Regions from separate parts of the Homo sapiens genome. Here region 2 is linked to region 1. The links are contacts of gene promoters, found by promoter capture Hi-C in human tissues and cell types (Jung and others, 2019). All regions are on one chromosome and are shown on one strand. Each heading gives the region's core, a stretch centred on a gene start or on the middle of the fragment in contact. The rest is flanking DNA. Distances are from core to core; before and after follow the strand shown.

What was found. The method cuts DNA at HindIII sites, captures the fragments that hold promoters and counts their contacts. A contact is called where the count stands out against the background at its distance.
Region 2: a contact is called between a fragment that was not itself captured here and the fragment with the promoter of BHMT2 in region 1, in 1 of the 25 tissues and cell types used here (dorsolateral prefrontal cortex).

The regions. Positions count from the first base shown.
Region 1 is chr5:79,067,141-79,071,521 of GRCh38, reverse strand. BHMT2 (betaine--homocysteine S-methyltransferase 2) reads right to left here and starts at 1,755. Exons shown (of 8, transcript NM_017614.5): 1 at 1,707-1,755. The coding sequence starts at 1,739. DMGDH (dimethylglycine dehydrogenase) reads left to right here and starts at 1,848. Exons shown (of 16, transcript NM_013391.3): 1 at 1,848-2,002. The coding sequence starts at 1,902. The HindIII fragment of the contact is 19,729 bases long and covers 1-4,381 here.
Region 2 is chr5:79,403,732-79,408,112 of GRCh38, reverse strand. All of the region lies in intron 5 of HOMER1 (homer scaffold protein 1), which reads left to right. Among named protein-coding and RNA genes, the nearest start is that of HOMER1, 110 kb to the left of the region's middle. The HindIII fragment of the contact is 6,465 bases long and covers 1-4,381 here.

The sequences.
Region 1 (4,381 bases), core at 506-3,005:
CCTCCTCCCCATCAGTTTGGCAGTGAACCTGCCTTGCATCTGACAGCGAGCTCTAGGGTGCATTTATGCCCCCTTTTTGCAGATATCACTACGTAAGACCTCTGGGTTTAAGATCTGGCTTCAAGACATCTCTATTCATACTCAGTGGGGATCAACTTCACTGTGTAGTAGGAGGTGATCAGAAAAACCCAGTCTGTCTAAAATAACTTCCCCTTTTCCTAGATTTGCCAGCAGAACTGCTCTTTTGGATTTAAGACCTAATTGGAGGTCTTGTCTGTGGCAATTAAATGAATTCTTAAAATGTACCTGCTAGCTGAGGAGAGAGGTGAGATTAGTTCCTTCCCATTAACACCTTAACTCCCAGGTACACATTCACATGGATTAGTGTGTGATAATCTTGGTGTTGTAACAGTAGAGGCCCCAAAGACACTGAACAAAAACAGGGCATTTTAAAAACGTTTAAAAATATGAACTGTAAAGATGAACATAGCATTAGAGAAAGTTGAGAGAAAAAAGCACAATGTTCTTTGATTATTTTTATTAACTGTATTCTTTCAATGCTCACATTTTGCTTTTATAACCTGAAAAAATATCCTAAAACATGCTTTTTAAACCAATATTCCACATCTTGTGTAACTATTACCATTATTGTGTCCTTCCTTACAGTGTGTATATAAATATTTGTATATGGTTGGGATCAGTTTGTGATATATTTCCTTTTGCAACTTAACATTGCCAAGGCACTTAGCTGGTTCTCATACTAAGTTATTTAACTGTCTAATAACTTAAGTAGATGAACCTTAATTTATTTAGAATCCCGTATTGCAGAGTATCTTGGTCGTTTCTAACTTTTTAGTATAAATAGCTCGGTGGTGCACATTTCCACGCATAAACTGCCCCTCCTCCCTTCCTCCCATTCTGAATGACAGGGCTGGAGCGGGTGGGGGTCTCTGAAGGGTCCTGGGGATGTCTTTCGTCCAAGCTCATGCCCTTCCTAATTTTGCTTAGTCACTCCTTCATCCCACCCCCACACATACTCGACGTAGAAATGGCTGGGCATAAAGCCAACATCTGGTGACCAGACCAGGAAAGGGGCCAGGAGCTGGGGACCACCGGGTGAGAGGAGGTTGAGGGGTGCTAGCGAATCCCACCTACCCTCCACCCTGCACCGCAGCTCTGGGGGCGTCCTTGCCCAGGACTAGTTTCAGACCAGCCGGCGACTCGCAAGGCCAGGCTGCTTGGCCAGGCTGCTGACTTTTCCAAAACGCGAGGGGACAGTCCGAAGAGTTCCCGGACGGATTAGCCCAAAGAGCTGCGGGCGAGGGTCGGTTGAGGGAAGAAAATGTGTGCGCGACATGCGTCCGAAAGCTAGACTTCTGATCCTCGCTCCCCGCGGGGCTGGACCCGTGACCCTGAGCTAGTCGCCTGACTCGCCGAGCCTCAGTTTCCTCACCTGTGAAATGGGGATAATTGTGAAGATGAGGAGATAACTTGAGCACAGCACTCTGTGCAGCGCCAGGCACCGAGTAAGGGCTCCATAAACGCTAACCAACCCGTGACAGGGGAAAATTGAGGCTCAGGGCCATCCCGTCCAAGTGTTTTGCCGAGGCCCCAGGGCTTGGCTAGGGATGGACGCCGGGTGTGAACGGAGTCGCTCGCAGCCCAGCGGCCAGGAGCTCCGCGAGGATCGAGGGGACGAAACTCACCTTCTTGGCCCCCGGGCGTCCAGCAGGTGCCATGGTGCCGCGGCTCTGTGGGCGCCGGGTTCCCGGGCGCGCGGCCGTCTAGGAGCCCGCCCCCAGCCCGGGGGGAGGATCCGACCCCCGCCCCGCCGGCCCCGCGGCCTCAGGCTGCCCGCTGGCCTCGGAGCAGGCGCCTGCGCCCTCGGCCTCGGCCTAGTCATGCTCCGTCCCGGCGCGCAGCTGCTGCGGGGCCTCCTGCTGCGGAGCTGCCCGCTGCAGGGCTCCCCCGGGCGCCCGCGCTCTGTCTGCGGCCGGGAAGGGTGAGTGGGGCCCCGTCCTGCTCAGAGGCGACGGGGCGGCTGCGGGGGTGGGAGCCAGAGGCTGAGGCAGGCTCAGGGGTTAGGAGCGCTCTGGCCTCCAAGAAATAGGCCTTGATATATCTTCTCGAATTATCTTTTAATTATAAAGTGAAACAGTATCCAAAGGTTCCCCGTGTAAAGTCTCTCCTGCCCCAATCCCCTTGGCCAGTGAACAATTGTTAATAGTGTCTTCTGAATCTAACCAGAGACAGTCTACGCATAGGCAAACACAGGTCAGTATAGGTTTTCCTTTGGCTTTTTGACATCTTGCTTTTTACAATTATCAATATATCTTGGAGATTGTTCCATATCAGCACACACTGACTTGCCTTGTTCCTTTTAATGGCTGCATAGTTTTCCATCCTGTCAATATTCTACACTATCGTTAGTCTATTCATTAACATTTAAATGGTTTTTGGTTGTTTATTACTGCAAATAACGTGCATGTGAAAATTCTTAGGCATCTATCTTTGAGTACATATGGGAGTCGGTAGCAACAGTTTTTAAAGGTGAACTTGTTAGGGAAAAGGTTACGTGCATCTGAAAGATTGAAAGACAGCAACACATTCTCCAAGTGGGTGGCAAGAGTTTGCATGCGGCACACCAGTGTGTGTCTGTTTCCCACATCTTCCCTGGTTCCCAGAATAGCCCATTTTGTTATCTTTGCTAAATCTGATAGGTAAAAATGGCATGTCCTTGTTTTGATTGGTCTGTATTTAAATATGAGCAATGCTGAACATCTTTCGACTTCTTATATTTGTAGATTATTCCTGGTTGCCAGGAAAGGCTTGTTTATCAGCATCACTCAACATTATTATGAGTTGATTCGAATTTTATTTTATGTCCTATGACCTGAAATTCTGGAATCAGAAGACCTGCTTTTGAGTTCCATCTATCCATTCAACAAATATTTACTGGGTGTTGTGATGTGCTAGGTTTGTCTCCAGTACTGGGAATGCAGTAGCCACCAACTCACAGTTCCTGCGCCATCTGTTACACAGAATGTGACCTTACACTTCTGAGGTTCAGTTTCCTCATCTATAAAATGAGGATACTAATTTTGCTCTATATAACTCACAGGATTGCTGTGAATATTAAATAAGAGAATGCATGTGAAAGTGCTTTGTAAATTGTAAAGCAATGCAAAAATATTTATAATAATGATGTTTTTAATCCAGTGCAAAATAAAATGGAAATTTAACAAACAAACTGATTAGATAAATAAGATACAAATTTCAAGACTATCCAAAAAATTCATATTTTGGCTGAGTGTGGTGGCTCATGCCTGTAATCTCAGCACTTTGGGAAGCTGAGGTGGGCAGATTACTTGAGGCCAGGAGTTTGAGACCAGCCTGATCAACATGGTGAAACTCTGTCTCTAATAAAAATGCAAAAATTAACTGGGTGTCATGGTGTGCACCTGTAGTCCAAGCTGCTTGGGAGGCTGAGGCGGGAGAATCGCTTGAACCTGGGAGGCGGAGACTGCAGTGAGAACCGAGATTGCACCACTGCACTCCAGCCTGGGCGACAGGGATTCCATCTCACAAACAAAAACAAAAACACCCAAAAGTTGAGTTATTTCAATTGCATATTCTTTATATACCCAATTTCAAACTATCAAAAAATGTTTTATTTTGGAAAGCAGTTGAACAAGCATACAGTTTGTGCTTATCATTTCTAATACAGAAGATAACTGACCTGGGTTTTTTGCATGGCTCCTAAGTTTTATTTCAAATACTCTTATAAACATCCTCGACTACATTCAGAAGGATTTTAAGATAGTTATCCACATAATCAAAAACACTATACCTAGTCTGAAACCTATTATGGCATGCTGGGCCGAGGAAATACTATATATTTGATAATGCTTTATCATATGTTGCCAAACAGAACCTTCACAGCTCCGTTTTGCAAATGAGAAAACTTTGAGACCCTTGTGTAAATTTCTCTAAAATAGCTGTTCAGTTGGATTGGGGACTCAAACCCAGGTTTCCTGATCTTAAGTTCTCTTTTGTTGTTGTTGTTTCAACTGACCACTGTCCTGAAAGAAATAATTCTTTCTTTTGAACACACAAAAAAGAACCTTTAAGATTATTATTTTTGTCACCACTATAATGGTTTCAACTAAAGTACAAGATATGCCCAGTCTGTTTAAAAATGGATTTCCGTCCAAAGTAGTTGGGTCATATGTACATTATTTTTTTCTCACACAGCATACAAAGAGACATTAATAGTCATCTAAAAACCGGTGAAACAAAACTGCTGAAACATGTTGTGGCACCAGGAAATAAGGACATGCTCTAAGAATTATGTAGCCATGTCAAAAGCATACAGGAGTCA
Region 2 (4,381 bases), core at 1,038-3,537, 340 kb before region 1:
TATGTTTATGTTTTTTTCTGTAGATACATACCTGTGATAAAGTTTAATTTCTACAGTAGGCACAGTAAGAGATTAACAACATGAACTAATAATAAAATAGGACAATTATAGGAATATACTGTAATAAAAGTTATGTGAATGTGGTCTCTCCCTCTCTCAAAATATTTTATCATACTGTAATATTTTCAGACTATAGTTGACCATGTGTAACTGGAACCACAGAAAGAGAAACAATGAATAAGGAGCTACTGTAATTGTTATTTTTGTTCCTCTATGTATAATATGTTCTTGTACTTTTTGCATCTGTGGTTTCATGTCTTTTATTTTTTGAAAATACTCAGCCTTTATGTCTTCAGATATTTCCTCTGCCCTTCTCTCTTCTCCTTCTATGATTCTAGTTAAACATTTGTTAGACAGTTTACATGGCCCTTCATATCTTAGAAACTCTTTTTCTTTTTTCTCTTTGTGTTTCAGTTTGGCTGATTTCTCTTGATCTGTTTCCATGTTCACCGACTTTATGCAGCTGTGTCAAGTTCACTGAGCCTGTCAAAGGCATTCTTCACCTCTGTTGTTATGTTCTGTATTTCTAACATTTCTGTTGGGTTCTTTCCCATAGTTTTCATTGCTCTGCTAAAATTCACAATCTGAGTGAACGTGATGTCCTTCTTTCCACTAACACCTTTAACATTGCTATCTTACTTCCTTGATTTATTCAAGATCAAGATCAGATTAATCTCTGAGTATGATTCTGTTGATTGCTTTCTTTCTTGACAGTGAGGAGTGTTTTTTTTTTCTTGCTTTTTGATACATCTTGTAATTTTTTTTTTCATTGAATGCTAAACATTGTGTGGAGGACAGTAATGATGAACACTATTTCCTCCTAGAAATGGGTATGACTCTTCTGCTAGGCTGTTATTATGAAAGTTAGTCCATTTGGGGGTTGAAAGGGATTTTGATTTTGTTGTTGGTATGGTTACTATGAGTATGCTATAGCCTTTAAACATCTCTAGCATTACCTTGTGCTTAGGATTGCTAGAGGGTTCTACTCACTGCTCGACACTCATCTTTTGGTCTTTTTTTGTGTGTGTGCACACCTCAAAGAAGGTCTGTCTCTACAGTCTTGACCTTCCTGCAGTGGAAGGCTGCTATAATAGACGACAGAATGGGGTTCTCTGTTGTTTTTGTCCAGCCTCAGTCTTGGGTAGACCCTTTGTCCCAGGATCTCAGAAATGAGGCTTTCTCAGTGATCCTGCCCCTCTCCCAGTAACAGGTAAATTCAGCCTTGTGATAGTTGAGAGTCTTGTGTAGGAGTTTCCTGCCTCTGTCCCACAGGTTAGAGACCTCTGAATCCAGGACTATTTTCTGTTCCTCTCACAGAGTTACAGTGTTTTATTCTCTTTGCCCCCAGCCATAACAGGTCTTCACCTGAATCCAGGTTAAGTGGGAGAATGACAGGATTTAGGGGTATCCTTCTCCCATTGGTTTAAGATTTTGGTCCTGTGGAGAAGAAGGGTCTTGGCTAGACTTTGTGAATTTCCCAAATGGAAGTCTCTCCCCTCATCCAGGATCCTTTCTCTAGTCTCTCTCTCTGCCTCTCCAATCTTTCTCCTGAGAACCTGATAGAAGTCTGTGGTAAAGAGCCTGCAAGACGGTACAAATTCCCTTTTGTATCTCTGGCTCCCAAGAGCCTTAGAAATGCTTGTGGTAGCCATCTTGCTCATAAGTACCACTCCAAACATGAAATTGTGAAGTTATCTTCTTGATACAGGTAGAAAATAAAATGATTACACTTACCTAGATTTTATCATTAACGTATAGTATATTTCAAGATTTTACCAGAGTTGTATCTTAAACTTGAGCTTCCTTGGGTCTAAATACCAACCAAATATGAAAATACTGGATAATGCTAGGATGAATTTGAAGAATCTAGTAACCTACTCTAAACATATATTTCAACAGTCAAGCGTTTTAAAATAATTGATGTGGTGTTATAACTACCTAGACTACTCATATAAAAAGTACTTCTGCCAATCGGTATTAACTTGTAAATTACGCCAAAACAAGGCAACTAGTTCAGGAATACCAACCTTTTCTTAAACAGGTTTGTTGTAGATTCTCCATGTTCCAGGTCTACAGTGTTTTATAGATGAAATCCCTGTTACCGTATATGCATGCCTGATAAGTTTAAAATGGGAGTCAAGAAACTCCATATGATTCTACTACCCAAAACTAGTGTGAAATTCCATCCCTGATGTGAGAGCTAAAATATTTATATTTGAGGTTTTTATTAGTGTTGAAAGTTTTATTAAAATTAGTGTTATAAAATTTACTACTCATTAATTGATTTGATCTGAGGTTAGCCTTGCACTTATTTCATAGTGAATACCTTTACTTTTCATTTAGTGCATTGACTAAGCTTGCACAGATTGGCAAGCACCAGGTTTTGCTGGTAAGTGAAAGGATGGGTGTAATAACTGGAAAATACTTGTTGGAGAAAACTTGAATCAATGAAAGGAAAAAATGCAATCTGATAGATTCTGAATATAGAAAAAATTGGACAAAAATTCATAGAAAAAAATGAGAATCTGATTGAGAAGAAGAGCTCATCACAGAAAAGCCAGCTTGATTAGAACAGGAAATATAATCCATGTACTTCAATTCAGGAAGATGGGGCAAATTGATAGGTTACATAATGTGGGTTTAAAAAATTATGTTTATTAGTTTGCTTGAGTTGTCCTAAAAAATGCTGTAGACTGCATGGCTTAAACTATAGAAATCTATTTTCTCATAGTTCTGGAGGCTAGAAGTCTGAGATCAAGGCGTCTGCAGGGTCATTTCTTCCGAGGCCTCTCTCCTCGTCTTGTAGATGGCTGTCGTCTCTTTTTATGTTCGTGTGTCTGTGTCCTAATCCCCTCCTCTTGTAAGGACACCATTTATACTGGATTATGGCCCACCCTAATGACCACATTAAACCTTAATTACCTCTTTAAAGACTCTGTCTCCAAATACAGTCATACTGTGAGATCCTGGGAGTTAGAACTTCAATATATGAGTTTTGGAGGGACACAGTTCAGCCTCACGCACAGAATCGAAGAGGCAATCAGGACCGGGCACGATGGCTCATGCCTGTAATCCCAGCACTTTGGAAGGCCGAGGCGGGTGGATCACCTGAGGTCAGGAGTTAGCGACCAGCCTGGCCAACATGGTGAAACCCTATCTCTACTAAAAATATTAAAAAAAAAAAAAAATAGCTGGGCGTGGTGGTGGGCACCTCCCAGCTACTTGGGAGGCTGAGGCAGGAGAATCGCTTGAACCTGGAAGGCGGAGGTTGCATGAGCTGAGATTGTGCCATTGCACTCCAGCCTGGGCAACAAGAGCGAAACTCCATCTCAAAGAAAGAAAGAAAGAAAGAAAAGGCAGAATGTCAAGATCCTCTTGAACAGTACTGTTCAGTAGAACTTTTTGTCATGATGAAATGTTCTGTTATCTTTGCTGTCCAGGGTAGTAGCCACCAGTCATGTGTGGCTGTTGAGTGCATGAAATGTGTCTCAAATTCAAAGCTGAATTTTTTACTTTAATTTTGAAGTATTACATTTAAATAGCCACATGCTAATATTTGGATAATACAGATCTTGACTGATCTATTTATTTGACATATAAAGAACTGAGAACCAAAGTGCTTGAGTGTTGGGTCCGAGGTTACCCAGATAATTACTGAATACTTGTGATGTAAGCAGTTATAAAATGCTTGATGGATTTTACTGTCTAGTGACTATAAAATAAAACCCACATAAATATAATAGAAAAACACCCTCATTTTAAAATTATTTCTCCTGCTATAAATATGTGGTAATCCATTTTACTTTATAATTGTGTGATTTTGACAAATGGATTTTAGGAGTAAATAATTGTTGTTTCTTCCAGTTAATTTTTAAAGGTGTTTGCTATTGACATGTAACAAGTGTTTAAATTAGTTCACTAAGATGTCAATCGTCAGATTGAAGTTTCCATTTAAATAAAACGCATCTCTATAGGGGAAAAACTGGTAGGTGGTTTAAAGAAAAATCTATAATTCAGTTAGAGCAGGTGAATCCATGCATGCTTTTTTCAGAAGACATGAATCTGAAAAATCATTTCACAAAGGAAGAATAAGAAAAGAGCTTTCCTTTTCAGGATAGAAATGGATTGTTAAGTTAATAGCTTAGCTTGTTGCTTGATTCTATCCTTTCATGTTTTGATGATATTTTCTCACTTAGTAAACTTTAGGAATATTTTTAACTTTTCATTTTAAACTAATTTTAGACTTATAGAAAAATCACAAAAACTGTACAGAGTGCCCGTATACACTTCACACAGCTTCCCTTAATGTTAACATCTTGTG